2 separate regions of the Homo sapiens genome follow, and region 2 is linked to region 1. The links are contacts of gene promoters, found by promoter capture Hi-C in human tissues and cell types (Jung and others, 2019). All regions are on one chromosome and are shown on one strand. The core of a region is centred on a gene start or on the middle of the fragment in contact, and the rest is flanking DNA. Distances in the headings are between cores, read along the strand shown. Region 1 holds the start of RAB6B (RAB6B, member RAS oncogene family). Region 2 overlaps SLCO2A1 (solute carrier organic anion transporter family member 2A1).

Region 1 (6,769 bases), core at 4,270-6,769:
ATCAAGGTGCCCCAACTCTTTGGCTGGGATGGGGGTATCACAGAAGGTCAAGATGGGAGCCAGGACTTTTGCCTCCAGTGGGCAGTACCAAGGCCTCCCACCTGCAATGTCAGCGTAGACCACATGGGGAGGCTGGACTTCTACCACCACCCCACAGTAATGAGGACCAACAAATTTTTGACAAAGGTGCAAGAGCAATTCAATAGAGAAAATATAATCTTTTCAACAAATGCTGCTGTAGCAACTGGACATCCATGGGCAAAAAACCAAAACCAAACAACAAAAAAACCCCTCCAGCCTAAGTCTTACACCTCACACAAATGTAACTCAAAATGGACCATGAACATAAATGGAAGACATAAAACTATTTTTAAAATTTTTTCAAAAAACATGGGAAAGTATCTTTGGGACTTAGGGCTTAGTAAAGAGTTCTTAGACATGGCACCAAAAGGCACAATTCATAAAAGAAAATATCAGTAAATTAGACTTCATCAAACTCAAAAACTTTTGCTTTGAAAGAGACCTTGTTAAATTGCTCGGAGTGGTGGCTCATGCCTGTAATCCCAGCACTTAGGGAGGCTGAGGTGGTAGGGTTGCTTGAGGCCAGGAGTTCAAGACCAGCTTGGGTAACATAGCAAGACCTTGTCTTTATAAAAACAAAATTTAAAAATTAGCTGGGTGTGCTGGCGCACCTCTGTGGTCATAGCTACTTAAGAGGCTGAGGCAGAAGGATCACTTGAGCCCAGGAGTTTGAGGTTGCAGTGGGCCATGATTGTGCCACTGCACTCCAGCAGAGTGGGAAAAAATATTTGTAAATCACATATCTGACAAAGAACTAGTATCTAGAATACATAAAGAACTCTCAAAACTTAACAGTAAAGAAAAGAATCTAATTTAAAAATGGACAAAAGACATGAACAGACATTTCATTAAGAGGATATACAGATGGCAATTAATCACATGAAAATATGTTGAACATCATTAGTCATTGGAAATGTAGATTAAAACCACCCACAATGAGATATTACTACATTCCTCTCATAATGGCTTAAAATATTGACAACAGCAAATGCTGATGAGGGTGAGAAGAGGCTGGATCGCTCATCCATTGCTGGTGGGGAGTGGAAAGTGGTAGAACCACTCTGGAAAAGTCTGGCAGTTCCTTTAAAAAACAAACATGCATATGACCCAGCAAGTGCACTCCTGGGCATTTATCCTGGAGAAATAAAAACTTCCTTTCACACAAAAATCTCTACATGATAGTTCATAACAGCTTTATTTGTAATGGCCCCAAACTGGAAATAATTTCAGATGCCTTTCCACAGGTGAGTGGTTAAACAAACTGTACGTCCATACTATTGAATGCTACTCAGCAGTAAAAGGGAGCTAACTATTGCTACAAACAATAACCTGGGTGAATCTCCATAGAATTATGTGAAAAAAAAAATAGGACATGCAGTGGAATAGTAACCAGCAGGGAAAATGAAAGAACTGCTGCTACATGAATCAACAGATGGATCTCAGGAACATAATGTTAAGAAAAATGCAAGTCATAGGACAGAATATACAGTTTGAGACATTATATAAAATTCAAAAGATGCAAAACAAAAAAGTATTGTTGGAGGACACATCCAAATGTGATAAAAACTCAAAGAAAAGCCACAGTTCTGGATTTTCAAGCTGGGGAGAGAGGGAGGGGCAGAAACACCTGAGGGCCTCAAAAGTACTGTAATATTTGAGTGCTCCAGCCAGGTGAAGTGAAAAAAACAATCCCAAAGGGTGATATACTGTGTAATGCCACTTATATAAGATTCTTGAAATAACACATTTATTGAAATGAAGAACAGATTAGTGGTTGCCAGAGGTTAGGAAGGGGTTGAGGGTGGGAGGAAAGTGGGTGTGGCTATAAAAGGGGAACATGAGGGCTCTTTGTGTGTCAAGGTACAGAACAGAAATGTACCTTGACTGTCTTAATTCCAGTATCCACATTATGATACTGTAGTATAAAGTTCTGCAAGATCTTACTCTTGGTGAAAACTAGATAAAGGATATACAGATCTGTCTTTTTTTTTTTTCCTGTTTGTGAATCTACAATGATCTCAAAAATTTAATTTAAATATATATATATATATATATAACACAGCAAAGGGCTCAGGAAAACCAAGATCTTGAAGAAAATGAAAAATATAGATGATGCTGTAGTGCTATATGATCTAACGAATATCTTTGAAAAATAGTTTGGCACAAAATTAAACGTACACTTGTTTTTATACCACAATTTACCTACTGACACATATCTTAGAAAAACTTCACAGAGGCATCAAGAGACATGTAAAGAATGTTGATGGCAGCATTGTTTGTTAATAGCAGAAACAAAACTGAGTGCATTTTCCAATGTTAATTTCCTGGTTTTACTAAGCAATGTGGTTATGTAAGATGTTATCACTGGGGTAGCTTGGTGCAGGATACATAGTAACTCCCTGCACTGTTTTTTATAACCTCTATGTGAGTATAAAATTATTTAAAATAATTTTAAAAAAGGCCAGGCGTGGTGGCTCACACCTGTAATCCCAGCACTTTGGGAGGCTGATGCAGGCGGATCACGAGGTTAAGAGATTGAGACCATTCTGGTCAACATGGTGAAACCTCGGCTCTACTAAAAATAAAAAAATTAGCTAGACCTGGTGGTGCGTGGCTGTAGTACCAGCTACTCGGGAGGCTGAGGCAGGTGAATTGCTTGAACCTGGGAGGCGGAGGTTACAGTGAGCCGAGATGGCGCCGCTACACTCCAGCCTGGTGACAGACCAAGACTCCATCTCAAAAATAATAACAACAATAATAAAATAAAATAAAATAAAAATTTTAAATGACACATTTTACAGAAAATCATTTAAAAATTGGGGCATAACTAGAATACTAACCAGCAGTGAAAATGAAAGAACTGCTGCTACATGAATTAACAAATGGATCTCAGAAACATGATGTTAAGAAACATGCAAGTCAGGACAGAAAACACAGTTTGATACCTTATATAAGATTCAAAAGATGCAAAACAAAACAAAGTATTGTGAAGGACACATCCAATGTGATAAAACTCAAAGAAAAGCTAAGATTCTGGATTTCCAAGTTGGGGAGGGAGGAAGGAGAAGAAAGCACCTGGGGGCCTGAAAAGTACTATAATATTTGAGCCCTCCAGCTGTGTAGAGGGTAAATGGGCACTCAGAGTGATAGGTTTTCTTTGTAACTTACATATACACAGCACATACTAAATAGGAAGATTTAAAGAATTTTTTTAAATGGAATGCACAGATTCTATGATATGGAAGAAACTCTTTCTAGTGAGGTTGCCAGGCTGAGGTTCAGTGGCCCCATTTTCCACCTGGAGAAAGTCTGTCTGCTTTAGGGCAGGTTAAGGACAAGACTCAAAATCAGGGGAGATAAGCAATGATAGTTGGAGGAGAGAGACTTGGAGCAGAGCAAACTTGGAGTCTCTAAGGCTCTCATTTCCACAGCATGATGACTGCATTCTGAGAGCAATGCCAGTATCTGCTCCAGCGACGTGAGCCCGGTAGTCGGAGCCGGGTTTTTGTCATTTGAACTGGAAGAATTATGACAGAGTCCCCCAAAGTAAGCTGGACCATAGTCAGCCCAGCTGGACCTGGTAAGCATATGGGATGACTTGGAGGCTTAGAGGTGCCCAGAGGGGCCCTGCCCCAGCCCTCCCTCCCCTACTGCCATACCACCTTACATGTGCGGGACCAGATGATCAGAGGAGGTACAGGACCTGCCTAGGCTTACCCAAAAGATGGTGCCTTTTCTGGCACACCTCAGCTGTTTTGTCTTGCCACCGATGATCTCATCAGGTCAGGATGAGAGGGTACAGGGAGACAGCACTAGATGTTAGGAGAAGGTGCAGGTTGGAGGAGTGTTGCATGGCTGGGTACCTTGGCCAGTAGCTCACTGGCCCTTCTTTGGAGGGATCACTTATAGAGACGGGAAGGGCTGTGACTTGGGAGTCTCCTCTCCTTTCAGAGCTTTCTTCAACCCCAAGCTGGATATGGTCTCCTAAGAGAGCAGGAGCCCCAGAGAAGTGGGTGGGTGTCTGGAGGGTTACCCTGAGCCTGGTGCCAGCCACAACGGGGCAGATATTCTAGGTGATGACTTACAATCCCTGGGGTTCCAAACTAAAGGTAATTATGAGAATAGGACAGTTATTTTGATTTGAGTTCTAGATGTTCATTCAAACATTCAACAACTATTTCTTAAACTCTGAGCTATGTCCTTGGGATGCAGTGGTGGAGCTTCAACTACTGCTTTTATGGAACTTGTGGTCAGGTTTCTAACAAGAAATAGGAAAGAGATTCGAGGTGAGCACACCAGGGAGACAGATAGGCTTGCCCAAGCAAGCCCCATAAGTCAAAAAGGGGGTAACAAGTGTCCACGAGAAATCTGGAGGTGAAGGTTGTGTCTCACTCCTCTTTCTCTTTCTATAACACATGCGTGCACACACCATCGTGTTCACCGACATGCAGATTATTATCTCAAATAAATGCTCACTGAACAGCCATAAATGAACAAGACCACGCTGTGGCAGAACAGTAAGGGACAGCTTTGTAAAACCTCAATTAACCAGCATGCCTTAGGCTCGGGCTGTCTTGGGAGTGTTTCTAGCACTTGGCGTCTGCTCTTTGCTCTCACTCACTCACAACTTGGTCTGTGTGCCTCGATGGACCAGGCAAGTAGAGGCCAAGGAGAGGTCGCCCACATGTCCTCAGATAGCTCATTGTCCAGATACACCTAATTGCCAGGGTGGGGAGTGGCATTGTCAGCCTGGCGACCCCGGGATCAAGAAACGCAGGGCACTGTCCTGGAGATAGTGGCACTGGCATTCAGAGCGTCACCGTTCCTTCTCTCCCATGGGGCAGGTTAGGATTTGGCATAAAATGATCCAAATGAGCAGCTGGTTTGAGGTAGGCGCGCCTGATATTGGCAGCTCCTCTCTCGCTGGCCAGGTCTGCGGGGGCACCCACAGACTCCACAAGAGGCCGCCCAAATAAAGGGTCTAGGCCTCGAGAGGGAAGGGCGGGCTAGAAGCCACGGGGGGCAAGAGTCGAGCCCCATCTGCGCCAAGTACGCCAGGTTTCCCTAGGTCTGACCGCCCTGACGGGCCTCGCCACACCCTGGCTCTCCCCCACCTTCGTTCCTTTCCGCCCTGTCGGTCGGACGACTGCGCTGTGCATCGGTGTCTCGCGAGGTGGAGGAAGGGACTGGCATCTAGGTTTAAAAGACCAGAAACAAATGTCCCCTGACAATTTCTGTCATTTTCTGGATTCAAAAGAGGGGTAGAGTGGGGAAGACAGACGCAGCGGGGCAGCGAGACACGGTCCCCCCCGGGGGGCTCTCAGGGGTACGGCGAGGAGGTTCTCTCCTGCCCGGGTGCGGGCTCGGGTGGGCGGGCGCACGCCCCCCAGCCCCGCAGCCCCGCGGGCCCCGCATGACATCAGAGGCTGGGGAGCGCACAGAGCGCAGGCGCCGGCGGAGGAGGCAGGCGGGAGGGGGCCGACTGGCGCGGCTCTGGAGAGCGCTCCTCCGCCCCGCGCGCCGTCCCTGCGCCCCGCTCCGCCCGCGCCTCTCTCCCAGCGCCGCGCCTCGGGCGTAAAGAGCGCGCCCCTCGCACCGCAGCCAGTGCCGACCGCAGCAGCCCAGCCCCAGCCTTCCTCCGCCTCCGCCTCTCTCTCCTCCTCCTCCTCCGCCGCCGGACACGCAGCCGCAGGCCGGGACCGGGACGCAGCTGGGGAGTCAGGGACGCGCGCAGCCAGCCCTTCCCCCTCCGGCTCCCGCACCGCCGGCCGCCTCCCCTCGCCCTCCTACTCTCCCCTCCCTGCTCCTTCGCTTTTTCCTCCTCCTCCTCTCCCGGCCCCGGCTGCCAGCACCATGTCCGCAGGGGGAGATTTTGGGAATCCACTGAGAAAATTCAAGTTGGTGTTCTTGGGGGAGCAGAGCGGTAAGTACCCGGCTTAATCTCTTGGCTTGTCGCCGAGTCGACCCCCGCCGCCCAATCGCCCACCCCATTGGGACCCCCGGCCCAGGCTCGGAAAGGCCCCTCCTTGCCAGGGTAGAGGAGAGGGACAGGGATGGGGAGGTCGGGGCGGGGTCGGGCTGGGGAGGGGCCAAGGGTGAGGACGGAGGAGGCGCTGGAGCCTGGGGTGGAGGTGAGGGTGGGCTCTGGGTGGGGGGCCCGGGGTGTGGGTGCAGGTGCGGCGCTGCAGGGGGCCCGGAGGGCGGCGGCTGGCTCCGCGGCGCTGGCCAGGGCGTGAAGGAACCGGGCTCGCTGGCTAGCTCACACTGCGGCACCGGCTGCGGGCGACCGCGCAGGTGGCTGGGTGCTGGCGGGGGTGGGGAGAGCGACGGGCGCCCCCCTTGGAGAACGAAGCGAAGCTGGGGTCTGGCCGGGCCTCACTCCGCTGCACTGGAGGGGTGTTCCCTGCGGACCCTGCTGGGAACCATGCGAAAGGGCACGTCCAGGGCGTGGGACAAACAGCCACCGGGGAGAAAAGAGCGACACCTGTCTCTGCTCGAAAGAGCGAGTGCAGGCCATGGGGGAACGGGGAGCCTACCTCCCCTGGCTCACGTCCGACTGGGCACAGAAGGTTCTAGACCCGCTGCCCTTCGCCGGCGCTTGTTAGTCTCCTTGCTGCCCAGGGATCTGGGCAATTGCAGTGAGGGCTACCCCAACTCGAGGCGATTTGGGGAATGATACAGGGGCACC
Region 2 (6,769 bases), core at 2,445-4,944, 41 kb before region 1:
CTGGCCAACATGGCGAAACCTTGTCTCTACTAAAATTACAAAAGTTAGCCGGGCATGGTGATGGGCGCCTGTAGTCCCAGCTACTTGGGAGGCTGAGGCAGGAGAATTGGTTGAACCTGGGAAGTGGAGGTTGCAGTGAGCCAAGACTGAGCCACTGCACTCCAGCCTGGGTGACAGAATGAGACTCTGTCTCCGAAAAAAAAAAAAAAAAAAAAAGATGACTTTGTAGGTGACCCAAGCATTATTTATATGAGTCCTGGCCCCCAATTAGCCATGGGAACACAAGCTGGAAGTGAAGGCTAGCTGAAAACGTGGAAGGAGAAAGAGAGGTCAGAAGGTCAGCTTTCATTCAGGGCCACATGGGACAGAGACTAGAAGGGGCCCAAGATCTCAATCAAAAGCCAAATTGGGGTGGCCAAGTCCCGTTTCATTGAGAATCTAGGGGAGTCTGCCCAGGGCAAGGGCCAAGACAAGGCAGGTATCTATTATGAACTGGACCACTGGAGGGATCTGTAGACACAACAGGATTTGAGACACTTTGCATTGTGGGGGTCCCAAGGGGTGCCTCTTCCCCTGCCCCAATGAGTATTTGTCTCACTGGGCCATCCCTCAGGGGGACTGGGCAAAGGTCCCTTTCCAGTTTGCTAGCAGAACTGTGATGGTGGTGGTGAAACAAACCACAGGTAGAGGCCTGGGGATTACTTCTGAGCTCCCTTCCTCACTGTCCCCTAGCACTGAAGGCTCTTCCTGACAAGCACCCACCGGGAGTGTGTGTGCTCAGAGCACAGAGAGTCCTGGAGTCAAGTCACTCATCAGGTGCCTCTGCTGGCCAGCTGCTGGCTCCCCACCTTGTGTGGAGGTGTCCTCCCTCTCTCCACTCCCCAGCTGGGATGGCAGGGCCGTCCCCTGCTCTCTCTGAATCTCCTTCCTCAGCCAAACACATTTTCCTCTCTTGAAGGAAGATGGTTAGGGGCAGGACCAGCTACCTAATTTGCAGGACCTATTGCAAATGAAAATGTAAAGCCCCTGGCTCAGAAATTAAGAATTTCCAGACAGCTGCAGCAGAGCATTAAGCCAAACATGGGACCTTTCTGAGGGTGGAGTTGTATGCACACACCCACAGAGCTAGCCTGGGGTAGGGAATTCTTTTAGCTGTGCACAGAAGCCTGCAGCCCAAGGGCCCTAATTACACTTTGCAGCAGGGCTGTCTTTTACTGTTATAAGACATTCTGTGGGAGTTGTTCAGACCTGCTGCTATCAACACACCCACAGCATCCTTCTCTCCACTCCTAGCCTCTACTGCCCTCTGCTTCTTGAAGGGGGCTCTGGGCAGCCCTGAAAATCACACAGACTGGTGGTTCTCAGTGATGCATCAGAATCTCCTGGAGGTAAAATACAGATTGCTGGGCCCCATCCCCAGACTTTCCGACTCAGTAAGTCTGGGGTGGGCCTGAAAATCTGCATATCTAACAAGTTCCCAGGGGATGCTGATGATCCAGGGACCACGCTTTGAGGCCACTGATGTAAAGAACTAGAGCATTCAGCCCAGGTGAACCCGGTCACCAGAGGGCTCGTCAGGCCACATCAGGGCTGGTTCTGACCTGCTCTGAGGCTGGCTGCCCCTTACCCAAGGGATCGTGCAGCCCTGAATCCTCCCACTGCTGATTTCCTGTCTGTCTTTTCAGTGTGGTGAACCAGGAGGAAAAGTCATTTGCCATCGGGGTGCAGTTCTTGTTGATGCGCTTGCTGGGTAAGTGTCTAAGACCCCTCTTCCCAAGAAGTGGCCCCAGGCGATGGGGCATCTGAAGGCTATGGGTGCAGGGTAGCGATGGAGGAAGCACCATCTCATCTCCATGGCGAAGAGAAGCTGTGCATAATCAACAGCAGATGCCAAAATCCATGTGGACGGTTTCCCAGATTGCTTGAGGTTAGGAAAGACTCCATCTATGGCATTCATTCCTAACTAAGTTATGTAAGAAAAATGAAAAGTGAACACAGCTGAGAATACCTAATAGAGTGTTAAAGGCAGGTATTTTTAAATCCTTCTCACAAAACTCACTGTAGGAACAAAACTTTGCATTCCTGCCAAGCCAGAGCAGCGGCTGAGCCCAGCCCTGGCTTCCTTTCCATTTTACAAAATTCACTCCTCCTAAAACTATTTAGCAAAAGTTTCTTCCCTGTGGGGTCCTCTGCTGGTGAGTCCTGCCTGCCCTCAAGCAGTCCAGAGCCCACCAGAGGAATGGAGCTGTGCACAAGTGATCAGCAGTGCCCCAGGGGAGAGCGAGCTGCTTGAGGCAGCAGGAGTGCTCTCCCGGGGTGCCTGGGCTGAGGGCTGGGGGCACAATGCAGGCCCATTCCTGAACTGCTCACACTGGCTGTTCCTTCTTGACATATCTGTGCACTAGACTTAACACAAGGCAGCAATAGAGAGATCCTTGTAATGACAGGCACACAGTAGTAAAGGGACCTAATTGAACTGAGGATGTGTTAATTAAGGGTGCAAACTACAGAGGGGAATATGGAGACTCCAGCAAGAGGAACTTCAGTTACTATAAGGTGTCGTTTCTGACTATAAATCCTGAAATAATGTATAGCCCACTGTGCCTCATTACCCAGGGGCCAGGTCAACACCGCGCCCTGCAGTGGCTTCCATCCCCATTTTGAGATGTATTGGTGATGTCTCTACTGGGGCCAGGTGAGCGGGAGCCCTTGCTGAGCCCAATCCAGTCCCAGGCTGGGAGAAGTGTTTGGATGATGGGAATGAACCAGCTTTTTCAGTGGGATTTCTTGTTCCTCTAGTCCCTGCAGAGCCCCTTCAGACCCTGCTCCTGCTGCCTGCATTATAAACACAGAGGAAGCAGGGCGGCAGGATCTACCTGTCCTCCCAGCAGAGGCTCTGCTGTCATCAGAGCTCCTTATTTTCATTTATAACTTAACTTTCTCTAACACTTCTGCTGGGAAAGAGACCTCACATTCCTCTCAGCCCATCCAGCACCTAGGATAGGCTCTAAAGAGCCCTTTCCTGCTTCCTCCAGCAACCTTGAAAATGACCTTGAAAACAAGGACTCTCTCGGACTCTCTCGCACTGCTTGAAGCACTCGCTGCTTTTGCTTTTCCATTTGAGCTCAGATAACTCAATGTGGGACCACAATGAGAAAACCCAGGCCTGGAGGGGTTCCATTTATCACCCAAGAACACAATCCACTCTTGGGTAAAAAAAAGGACTTCCTATTACAGGTTTTAAATTACACATTGGGATTGGGTTGACAATGTTTCCGGACTTTGCTTCTACATAAGGAAGTGTCATATATCACTCTGGCCAGTTTTCATCCCCCTGTTCACCTGGAGACTTGAGAGTGAGCAGGATCTGAGTAGAGAGGCTTCTTCTTAGAGTTTCCCACTTGTGGGCAGTGCCACAAGTGGAGCATTGTCTGTCTTTCTTCTGGAAGCAGCTGCTCACAGGGCCCTAAACAAAGTCTGGGAGGCTGTTGTCAGCACTGTGGTGCTGAGAATGGGATGGGCCAGCCTTGGTGTAAATCCTGGACAAGCCCTCCGCAGTCCAGTAACTGCCTAGAGCTGTAGCTAGTGGTACGCTACCCACAGGTAGTGTGGCATCCGGAATATTAGACAGCCAGGAAGGCATAGCCCCTGCCAAGCCAAATCTTAACACTCAGCTGCTGGGAAGTTCGGGGTCCCAGAGCAGAAGCTTTGAGCAGCCAGGTATTGGGAGGTCTGCAGAGGGGTGTTGTCTAATCCAATAGGGCAGCTTGGTGTGGTGGAAGTACATGGGATTCGAACCTCCATAAACCAGGGTTCCAAGTCTGGCCTTGACTTCTCTTGGCTGTGTTACAGTGTCCCAGCCAAGAACCCCTTCCTCTTCACTAAAAAGTGGGCACCCACACCTCGGGGCCAGTGTGAGGACCTGAGAAGTCGATGCCTGGAGAGCCTCCTGCCACACAGTGGAGGCCCGTGTATCTCCACTCTGAGCTGATCTCAGGAGAACTATGTTGGATGTCTGAGCCGGCATCAAGGTGATCCCTGTGACTTACTCTGACTTGAAAGAATGGCCCAGGTCCCTTTTGTCTTCTAAGCCTTCTGGTGAAAGAGAAATTCAGGCTTCACTGAAAGCTATTCTGCTTTCCAGAGTCACTGTGAGTCCTATGGGTACGGCAGAGCCGTTCTCATGTATGTGAACTGTGTCGGGGACTTGGCTCCCACACCCCTGCTGGACACCTCTGCCTGCAGTTCCACCTGACCAGGGCTTTCTGAACCCTCTTCCAGCCTGGCTGCCATCTCCAGCCCTCTATGGCCTCACCATTGACCACTCCTGCATCCGGTGGAACTCGCTGTGCTTGGGGAGGCGAGGGGCCTGCGCCTACTATGACAACGATGCTCTCCGAGACAGGTGAGGGCCCATCATGTATGTGTGTCCCAGAGCCAGGCCCTGGGCTTGAGATGACAGTAGTCATATGCCCAGTGGCTACTGTGGGGGCTGTCAGGCTTCCAAGGAAGAGAACATGAAGGGCCACCTCTGCGGCCCTGCCATGGACAGGGAGCAGGGGCTACTATAACAGGCATTTCAGGGCTCACAGGGAGATGTCCAGGGACTTCCATGACCCGAAAGCCCTTGGAAGGGGCAGCAGACCCAGGGACTTCCCTGACCCGAAAGCCTTTGGAAGGGGCAGCAGCAGAAAGAAGGGGCGGGGATGGCTGGAGCCCAAGGAAGAGGCCATGGCTGTGGAAAAATTGGGGGCAGCCTCCTGCTGCTCAGAGACAGAGGGGGGCCACATCATGGCTCCTGGCAGAGGTCCAGGGCAGGGGGACCAACCTGCCTCAATGGGCCAAGTCCAGCTGCAGTGCTATTGGGTTCTGCACCCCTTCCAGCCACCTCACCTGCTGCCGTTGTCATATGGCCCAGAAACCACAGGAAGGTGGGCTTGAGGGGACTGGGCAGGGGCTGGAAATGGTATGGGAGTGGCAGAGAAGACCACAAAAGGGACAGGCCAAGAGGGCAGTGAGAAGATGCCTCTCTCCTTCTGGCTCTGCTTGGAGGTCAGGACCGTCTGGGGGTGGCTGGGGCAGCTGGGTCACCTCTGGCCCTCTGGAAAGAGCCAGTGGAGGGATGATGAGCCCTGGATTAAGAGTCCCATGCCTACTCCCTGCCTGCTTCCCTACAGCTTTGTTCCCTTTTGGGTCAAAGAAATGAGGAAAGTGATCCTCACCTGGATGGTGCCCACACCTTCCGCGGGCCAGCGTGGGAATGATGTGGTTCTTCCCAGTGGTCCTGGCCCTGGGATGTGGGCTGCAGAGCCCCCTCCCTCACCAGTCCTGCCTCCTCCTGCCCACAGGTACCTGGGCCTGCAGATGGGCTACAAGGCGCTGGGCATGCTGCTGCTTTGCTTCATCAGCTGGAGGGTGAAGAAGAACAAGGAGTACAACGTGCAGAAGGCGGCAGGCCTCATCTGACCCCACCCTGGGCCACTGCCCTGCTCCAGAGAGTGGACCTTGACTCTTCCACACCTGCCTATACTCACTAATGTTAACACGTCATTTCCTTTTTGTATTTTTAAACAAGAAAGAAAACCCCAGTCCTCATTTGCCTTCCCTACCTCTTCCTCCCAGAGTCCTCCCCACAGTTCCTAAGGGCCACTGTGTACCCGGGCTGTGTGGGCCAGAACTGGGGGGCTGAGTCTTCCCTGGCCCCTTGGAAGAGGCCCCCAGATGCCCAGGCTCACTTCAGTGTTGAGTCCTCCATTGAGGATGCCCACTGAGGCAGCCAGGCCCCTCACCAGCCCTGGGGGGAATCCTAAACAGAGAGAGAAAAAGGGTATCTGCCCTTCTTGCCAGGCAGCTCCACTCTCCCGCTGACTGCCCACACCCTGCAGAGTGGCAGGGGTGAAAGGAAGAAGGAAGTGGCTGAGTTATTAATAGCCAGAGCCACTGGGAGACTGGGGAGACTGGCTGTAACCCCCTTCACACCTGGGTTTGGCATCAGCACAGACTACGGGAGGGGCTGGCTCCCTCCCCCTCAGACCCTCACTTCCTGTACCTAGAGGCCATTCTGGATGCTGCCATGTTGGGAAGTACAGTCTCTGCCCATTACCTGCATGCAGGCACCAGAGCAGGGACTGAGAAACCCCAAGGATGGGTCATCTAAGTGCTGTCCATATGAACCCTGGACTTTCTGTCCTTAGATCCTCACATGTTATCCCTGTCTTTCTGGGGTACGTTTCAAACTGAGGAAGCTACAACACAGTGAAGACCCAAGGAAGGCCTATGAAAAGGTCCTGATGCCCAACCTCCCACCCCTTCAATGTGGGGACGAGACCCCCTCATCTCAGAGTAATGGGAAGAACCTCCCACATCTCCCTGGCAGCAGATGAGGTGGCTTCACATGCACTTCCCTGTCTGGACTTCAGCCCGTATTCCGAGGAGTAGAGAGGCAGAAGAGATGTCAGCAAAGCAAGTGATGAAGCAGAGTGGATGTCCACTGTCACCAAGCTGGATGGCAAGCTGCGGCCCACAAAACAGCCAGTCAGGTTGGCTTTCCTGGTTTCAGACATGCTCATACCATTCCCATTTTCTCAGCCTCTTCTCACTGCCTCCAGAGAGGTGGGTGCCTGGGTTGAGAGACACAGCTGCTACGTGATAGATGTTGAGAGACAGAAGCCAACGAAGGAGGTCATTCATCAACAAATATATTTATTGGAGACCGACTTTGTGCAAAGCAATGCTAATCAGGGTTCTCCATGGAGCTTCCCTCAGCTCT

The links. Contacts are between HindIII fragments. The study calls those that stand out against the background at their distance.
Region 2: a fragment that was not itself captured here is called in contact with the fragment with the promoter of RAB6B in region 1 in 1 of the 25 tissues and cell types used here (spleen).

Annotation. Positions count from the first base shown.
Region 1 is chr3:133,894,632-133,901,400 of GRCh38, reverse strand. RAB6B (RAB6B, member RAS oncogene family) reads left to right here and starts at 5,519. Exons shown (of 8, transcript NM_016577.4): 1 at 5,519-6,004. The coding sequence starts at 5,935. RefSeq lists a silencer at 5,500-5,549. The HindIII fragment of the contact is 14,643 bases long and covers 1-6,769 here.
Region 2 is chr3:133,933,410-133,940,178 of GRCh38, reverse strand. It overlaps SLCO2A1 (solute carrier organic anion transporter family member 2A1), which reads left to right. Exons shown (of 14, transcript NM_005630.3): 12 at 1,686-1,750; 13 at 4,282-4,405; 14 at 5,349-6,769. The coding sequence ends at 5,466. Among named protein-coding and RNA genes, the nearest start is that of C3orf36, 7.0 kb to the right of the region's middle. The HindIII fragment of the contact is 9,478 bases long and covers 1-6,769 here.